Regions from separate parts of the Homo sapiens genome. Here region 1 is linked to region 2. The links are contacts of gene promoters, found by promoter capture Hi-C in blood cells and fetal thymus (Javierre and others, 2016). All regions are on one chromosome and are shown on one strand. Each heading gives the region's core, a stretch centred on a gene start or on the middle of the fragment in contact. The rest is flanking DNA. Distances are from core to core; before and after follow the strand shown. Region 1 overlaps ELMOD3 (ELMO domain containing 3). Region 2 holds the start of GGCX (gamma-glutamyl carboxylase).

The links. Contacts are between HindIII fragments. The CHiCAGO score rates a contact against its expected background, and 5 or more counts as called.
Region 1: a fragment that was not itself captured here is called in contact with the fragment with the promoter of GGCX in region 2 in 2 of 17 cell types (total B cells and erythroblasts); the score reaches 6.5 in total B cells.

The regions. Positions count from the first base shown.
Region 1 is chr2:85,383,637-85,387,031 of GRCh38, forward strand. The region is part of intron 11 of ELMOD3 (ELMO domain containing 3); the gene reads left to right. Among named protein-coding and RNA genes, the nearest start is that of CAPG, 25 kb to the right of the region's middle. The HindIII fragment of the contact is 6,667 bases long and covers 1-3,395 here.
Region 2 is chr2:85,559,282-85,563,027 of GRCh38, forward strand. It overlaps GGCX (gamma-glutamyl carboxylase), which reads right to left and starts at 2,212. Exons shown (of 15, transcript NM_000821.7): 1 at 2,105-2,212; 2 at 1,534-1,704. The coding sequence starts at 2,147. RefSeq lists an enhancer at 2,186-2,415. The HindIII fragment of the contact is 2,007 bases long and covers 1,558-3,564 here.

The sequences.
Region 1 (3,395 bases), core at 819-3,318, 180 kb before region 2:
AAATTTGGGGAGATCAGGGATTCTCTGGAGGGTGTACTCCCAGACCTCAGCAAATTGTTCTGTTGTTTTGAGCCATAAAGTTAGCTCATGCTGGTACCAAGCATGGATAGGAGATTTGTCAAAGGCCAGGGGTACCTCCACTCAGAATCCCTCTGTGGTTACCAAAATGTGAACCCTGAAAATCTGAGACAGGTCTCAGTTAATTTAGAAAGTTTGTTTTTCCAAGGTTGGGAATGCGCACCTGTGACACAGCCTCAGGAGGTGCTGATGACATGTGCCTAAGTTCATCAGAGCACAGCTTGGTTTTACAGTTTTAGGGAGATATGAGACATCAATTAACACATGTAAGATGAGCATTGGTTCCTCCGGAAAGGTGGGAGGACTGGAAGCAAAAGCGGGATGACTGAAAGCAGGGAGGGGGTTTCCAGGTCATAGGTAGATAAGGGACAAATGGTTGTGTTCTTTGAGCATCTGATTAGCCTTTCCAAAGGAGGCAATCAGATATGCGTTTATCTCAGTGAGCAGAGGGGTAACTTTGAATAGAGTGGGAGGCAGGTTTGCCCTAAGCAGTTTCCAGCTTGACATTTCCCTTTAGCTTAGTGATTTGGGGAACCCAAGATATTTTGTTTTCACAATAGAAACTTCAGCTGGCTCATTGGGAAAATTAGAGACAATGTACAAAAGTAGCAAGCACAGCTGTGCTGTTGCTGTTTCAACTCTCTGCCCTCCCTGAGGAAATGCCTTGCACAGGGGTAGCATCTCTTGGCCCTGAAAGAGAAGAGTTAGCCTCCACGGGCCCAAGAGGAGGAGATGGACCTCCATGGGTTATGTGAGCCACAGACTTACCAACAGGCCAGAGGTGCTTCAGTAGCTCCTCTGTCTCTGTCTGGACCTGCCCTCTGGGGTTGGGTTTTATGGTTTTCTCAAGTAGCAAAAGGTAGCAATCCCTCCATTTTATTTTTATTTTTTAAAACAGTCTCACCCTGTCACCCAGGCTGGAATGCAGTGGCACAATCACAACTCACTGCAACCTCTACCTCCCAGGCTCAAGCAATCCTCCCACCTCAGCCTCGGCTGGGACTACAGGTGTGCCGTACCATGCCCAGCTAATTTTATTTTTTTAATAGTCTCTCCATTTTAGAAAACAAATTTGACCTGTTTCCTGCCATCTGTCTATCCCATATTCATGGGACCTAGGATTCATTCATTCACTGAATGAATATTTTTTCAGCATCCCTTGGTGCTATTCTTCTTGGTACTTGGGATACATCAGTAAATAAAACAAAGATTCTTCCAGCAGAGATGACCATAAGCTCAATATATCAATACATTATAGAGTGCTCTAGAAGGTAATAAGTACTAAGGAAAAATAAATAGGATAGAGTTGAGAGAATGTGGAGAGACAGTTACAGTATTTTTATAGGGTGGTCAGGGTAGCTGTCATGAGAGAGTGAGACTTAAACCAAACCTTGGAGGTGGGAATGTTAGCCAAGCTGATATCTGGGAGAAGAACATACCAGGCAGAGGGATTAGCTAGAACTAAGGTCTCAAGAAAGGAGTGTGTCTAGCATAGGTAATGAGTAGTAGGGAAGCCACCGGAGTGAAAAGAACACAGGAAGTTTCACTCATGTCTGTATGAAGAGACCACCAAACAGGCTTTGTGTGAGCAACAAGGCTGTTTATTTCACCTGGGTGCAGGCGGGCTGAGTCCGAAAAGAGTCAGCGAAGGGAGATAGGGGTGGGGCCATTTTATAGGATTTGGTTAGGTAGTGGAAAATTACAGTCAAAGGGGGTTGTTCTCTGGCTGGCAGGGGTGGGGGTCACAGTGCTCAGTTGGGGAGCTTTTGAGCCAGGATGAGCCAGGAGAAGGAATTTTACAAGGTAATGTCATCAGCTAAGGCAGGAACAGGCCATTTTCACTTCTTTTGTCATTCTTCAGTTACTTCAGGCCATCTGGATTTATACGTACAGGTTTGGGCCCAGAGGCCTGACAGGAAGGGCAGTAGGAGAGGTGGTCGTAGATGATGGGCCAGAGGGCGCAGGGCCTAGCAGGCCATGGAAAGGACTCTAGGTTTTACGCTAGGTAAAATGAGGAGGCACTGCAGGGCTTTGAGCAGCAGAGTAACACAGTCTAACTTACTTTTTTTTTTTAATGGATCCTACCAGCTGCTAAGTTAAGAATAATTTCCAGTGAGGGCTTTTGTAGTAAATTAGAGATGATGCTGGTTTGTCAATCTCCCCTTCCAGCAGAGGAATGTGTGGGTAAGAGAGTCACAATGTTTCTGAACAAAGCCATAGCTCCTAAGTGGTGAAGCTGGGCCTAGAGCCCCTGTTTCCTGACAGCTGGCCTGGCGGTGGGCTCTGTACAGCATTGATTCCCAGCCAGCAGCACACCCTGAAAAGTCACATAGCAGTGGGAGTGCAGATGCTTAGACTCTCCCCATCAGAACCACTCAGTTGGAATCTTCAGGGTTGGGGCCAGGTCAGCAGCAGCCGCAGAAGATACTCTGGTCTTCCTGCTTCAGCAGACAAAGGTTTCTAAGCCCAAACGTGAGGCATGAGGATAAATGAAATTGTAAATGGAAGCAGAAAAATGTCCAGGTCTGAGTTCCTCTGCTGTGTTTTAGTCAGTTTCAGTGCAGTATTTTAGCTCTAAACAATGCTTTTTAGGTCTGAGGGAACTGCTGAAGGAAAGGAGACATTTAGATCTGAAATCCAATTTTTACCATTTTTTGATACGTAGGCTTTTTTTTTTTTTTTTTTTTTTTGAGATGGAGTCTCGCTCTGTTGCCAGGCTAGAATGCATGGCACAATCTCAACTCACTGCAACCTCTGCCTCCTGAGTTCAAGCGATTCTTCTGCCTGAGCCTCCCAAGTAGCTGGGATTACAAGTGCCCACCAGTACACCTAGCTAATTTTTGCGTTTTTAGGAGAGACAGCGTTTCACCATGTTGGTCAGGCTAGTCTTGAACTCCTGACCTCAAGTGATGTGCCCACCTCGGCCTCCAAAAATGCTGGGATTACAGGAGTGAGCCACCATGCCTGGCCAATCAGTGGGCTTTTTAAGAATGTTCCCGGGCTGGGTGTGGTGGCTCACGCCTGTAATCCCAGCACTTTGGAAGGCCGAGACAAGCAGATCACCTGAGGTCGGGAGGTCGAGACCAGCCTGATCAACAGATCAACATGGAGAAACCTTGTCTCTACTAAAAATACAAAATTAGCCAGGCATGGTGGTGCATGCCTGTAATCCCAGCTACTCGGGAGGCTAAGGCAGGAGAATCGCTTGAACCTGGGAGGCAGAGGTTGTGGGAGCCGAGATCGTGCCATTGCACTCCAGCCTGAGCAACAAGAGCGAAACTCCGTCTCAAAAAAAGAATGTTCCTGAGAATGGATGA
Region 2 (3,746 bases), core at 962-3,461:
TAACCAATTCCCCATTTGTGAGAAGGGGAATACATCACAGGACTACAGAGAGGATTAAATTACAGAAATGCACAAAATGCTATAAAAACTGTTAGGGTCTTGACAGCTATAAAGATCCATCCTATTGAGCTTCAGAAAGTGCTCTGGGAGGCCAGGCACGGTGGCTCACGCCTGTAATCCCAGCACTTTAGGAGGCTGAGGTGGGCAGATCACCTGAGGTTGGGAGTTCGAAACCAGCCTGACCAACATGGAAAAACCCCGTCTCTACTTAAAATACAAAAAAATTAGCCAGGTGTGGTGGCGCATGCCTGTAATCCCAGCTACTCGGGAAGCTGAAGCAGGAGAATCACTTGAACCTGGGAGGCGGAGGTTGCAGTGAGCCGAGATCACACCATTGCACTCCAGCCTGGGCAACAAGATCGAAACTCCGTCTCAAAAAAAGAAAGAAAGAAAGAAAGAAAGTGCTCTGGGAGTGCTTCTCAACCTTTTCTGCTTCCTGGCACACTCCAAAAACAGTTGCATTTCGTCAACACCCTGGGAATAAACAGAAGAGGCTACTCAGATCAGGAAGCCAGCTTGAGATAAAGCAGGGTTTCTCAACTTCAGGACTAGTCACATTTTGGGCTGGTTAATTATTTATTGAGGGGATTATCCAATGCACTACAGGACATTTAGGAGCACTCCCTGACCTCTATAGAGATGCCAGCAGCCACCTATTCTTCCTCCCCCAAGTTGTGACAACTAAAAATGTCTCTAAACATTGCCAAATGTCTCCCAGGGAGCAAAACTCCCTCCAGTTGAGAACTACTGGGCTAAGGGGACTAATATCTCTGCACATCTGTAAACCATTCCAAGCACACCATGCTGCGGCCTCAGTTAAGAAGCTCTTGATTAGGGAGTCACAGCCAAAAGGTATGGTCCCTGTGGCCCCCTGCTCTGTTTCTCTGAGTCTTCTGGGCAACTTCATGCCACAAGCAAAATGGGTCACTGCTGCCTCGCCTCTACATATCATATAGCATTTCTAGCTGGGTACGGTGGCTCACACCTGTAATCCCAGCACTTTGGGAGGCCGAGGCAGGCGGATCACCTGAGGTCAGGAGTTTGAGACCAGCCTGGCCAACATGGTGAAACCCCGTCTCTACTAAAAACACACATACAAAAAAAATAAAAAATTAGCCGGGTGTGGTGGTGGGCGCCTGTAATCCCAGCTACTCGGGAGACTGAGGGAGGAGAATCGCTTTAACCCGGGTGGCGGAGGTTACAGTGAGCCGAGATAGCGCCATTGCACTCCAGCTTGGGCAACAAGAGCGAAAGTCCGTCTAAGGAAAAAAAAAAAAGCATTTCTGGCCACCAAGTAAATCCTAACTGTAGGAGACAAAGCAGGTTTAATCCTAAACTTCGCAAAGACCTCTTCTTTTATACCAATGTCTTCAGCTCTGAGGAAAAGGGAGCTAAGTCTACTTGCAACCAAAAAATAGAGATTGTCATTCTCCACTCTCAACCAAATTGCTCCCACCCATAAACTGGACTCACCAAAAAGAAAACGAAAGACAGCTAAGCTTGCAGGGTCCGTTGGTCGATTCAGCAGGGTCACCAGCCTCCGCCAACTGGACAAATCTGTCCACTCAAAACCCAAGAGTTTCCCTATTCGGCTGTCCTGCCTGGGCCCTGAGATCAGTTCAGCCTTGTCTTTCTGTACTTTATCTGCAATCAATAAATGGAGAAAATATGTGTGCGGGGGTGGGCTCCACCTCAAATCAAAGAAATCACTGCACCAACAGCTCAGAGCTTCCGCCCACCCGGGTCGGCTCAATGAGGTTGCCTCAATGATCTGACTATAGGAAACATCCCTGCAGTGCAGCCCCCTCTCCACGATCCCCTAATGTCCCAGAACCCCTCAGACTACAGTCCCCTAACCGCAGTGTTCCCGAATGTCATCATCATTCAGAAGCCGCAGGCTGCAAATGTCTCACAGCACGCCCCCTTCCCCACAGAGGACCCCCCCCCCGCCTCACCGGGAGACACTGGGCGTCCTCCCGCCCCCGCCCCTCTGAGACCAGCGCTCCTAGGAACTCTCCGCCGGAGGGCGGGGTCCTAAGCCTACCTGAGCTGGGCGAGGTCCGCGCGGACCCGGCAGACACCGCCATTGCTCTGCGGAGGAGGCAGGTGGGTCACAGCTGCCGCGTCTGAACGGAGGCCGCCAGGAGAATTTGCTTCCCTAGGCTCCGCCTCCCGACGCGTCAGCGGCTGTGCGGCCGGCCGCAAAGCGCCAGCACTGTCGTAAATACTACCCACGACCGGCGGCGCCGGATTCCTTGCTTGGCGGCAGGGGGCGGAACAAGGAGCCTTGGAGCGGGGCAAAGGTACCCCTTAGTGCCGTTGATCTCCAGGGGCATTGTTAGACTCGCCTGTTATGCCTTCCGAGGGGGCCTCTGCTTTTTAAACACTGAAAAGAGTCTGAGTTCCCCAACTTCCTTGGGTCCTCCCCGACCCCATTAGTCCTCTCCGTCCCTGCGTCCCTGCGGTGCTCTCTGGTGTGAGGGATCGGGCGCAAAGGGCAAACTTTTTGTCAGAGTGACGCCGAGTTGAGGACGCGCCTGGAAATGTTGCCTGGGTTTTGAGCCATTGCACGACCCCTTCACTTTCTTTTCCAGGACCTGCAAAGAACCGAGGTTTCAAAGCAGTAGGGGCCGGGCACTGCTCTCGCTTGTAATCCCAACAGTTTGGAAGGCCAATGCGGGAGGATCGATAAAGAAAAAAAAAAAAGGCAACAACAAAAAAAGAAAAAACACTAAAAAAAAAGTTAGCTGTGTGTCGTGGCGCGCTCCTGTGGTTTCAGCTACTCGGGAGGCTGAGGTGGGAGGTTCGCTTGAGCCCAGTAGTTCGAGGCTGCAGGGAGCTGTGATCGCACCACTGCACTCCAGCCTGGGGGACACAGTGAGACCCCGTCTCAAAAAAAAAAAAAAAAAAAAACAAGCCGGGTGCGGCAGCAAGCCTGTAATCCCAGCACTTTGAGAGGCCAAGGCGGGCGGATCACTTGAAGTCAGGAGTTAAAGACCAGCCTGGCCAACATGGTGAAACCCCGTCTGTACTAAAAATACAAAAATAATCCGGGCATGGTGGCGTGCGCCTGTAATCCCAGCTACTCGGGAGGCTGAGGCAGGAGAATCGCTTGAACCTAGGAGGCGGAGGTTGCAGTGAGCCAAGATCGCGCTACTGCACTCCAGCCTGGGCGACAGAGTGAGACTCCGTCTCAAAAAACAAAAAACGAAAAAGAAAGAGAAAGAAAAGAAAAGGCGGGAAGAAAAGAAAGAAAGAAAATTAAAAGCAGCCAGGGAAACAGGAACAACATAACTGAAGAGGGGATACAGAGCAAGGGCAGTGAGTAGAGTGTGGCCCATCAGGGAAGGTTCTCAGAGGTGAGTCTGGAGCAGAATTAAATACCTAAATCTCTCCACTGGGATTAGCCAGCAGGAAAAGAAGAAGGCATCCCAGAGAAGCGGTTCTCAAACAGTTGGGTCTTGGGAACCATTTACAGTGTTAGAAATTATAGAAGACCCTAAAAGCTTTGTTTATGTGGATTATATCTTTCAATATTTGCCGTATTAGAAATTTTTTTGGCCGGGCGCGGTGGCTCACGCCTGTAATCCCAGCACTTTGGGAGGACGAGGCGAGTGGATCACGAGGTCAGGAGATCGAGACCATCCTGGCTAACACGGTGAAACCCCGTCTCTACTAAAAATACA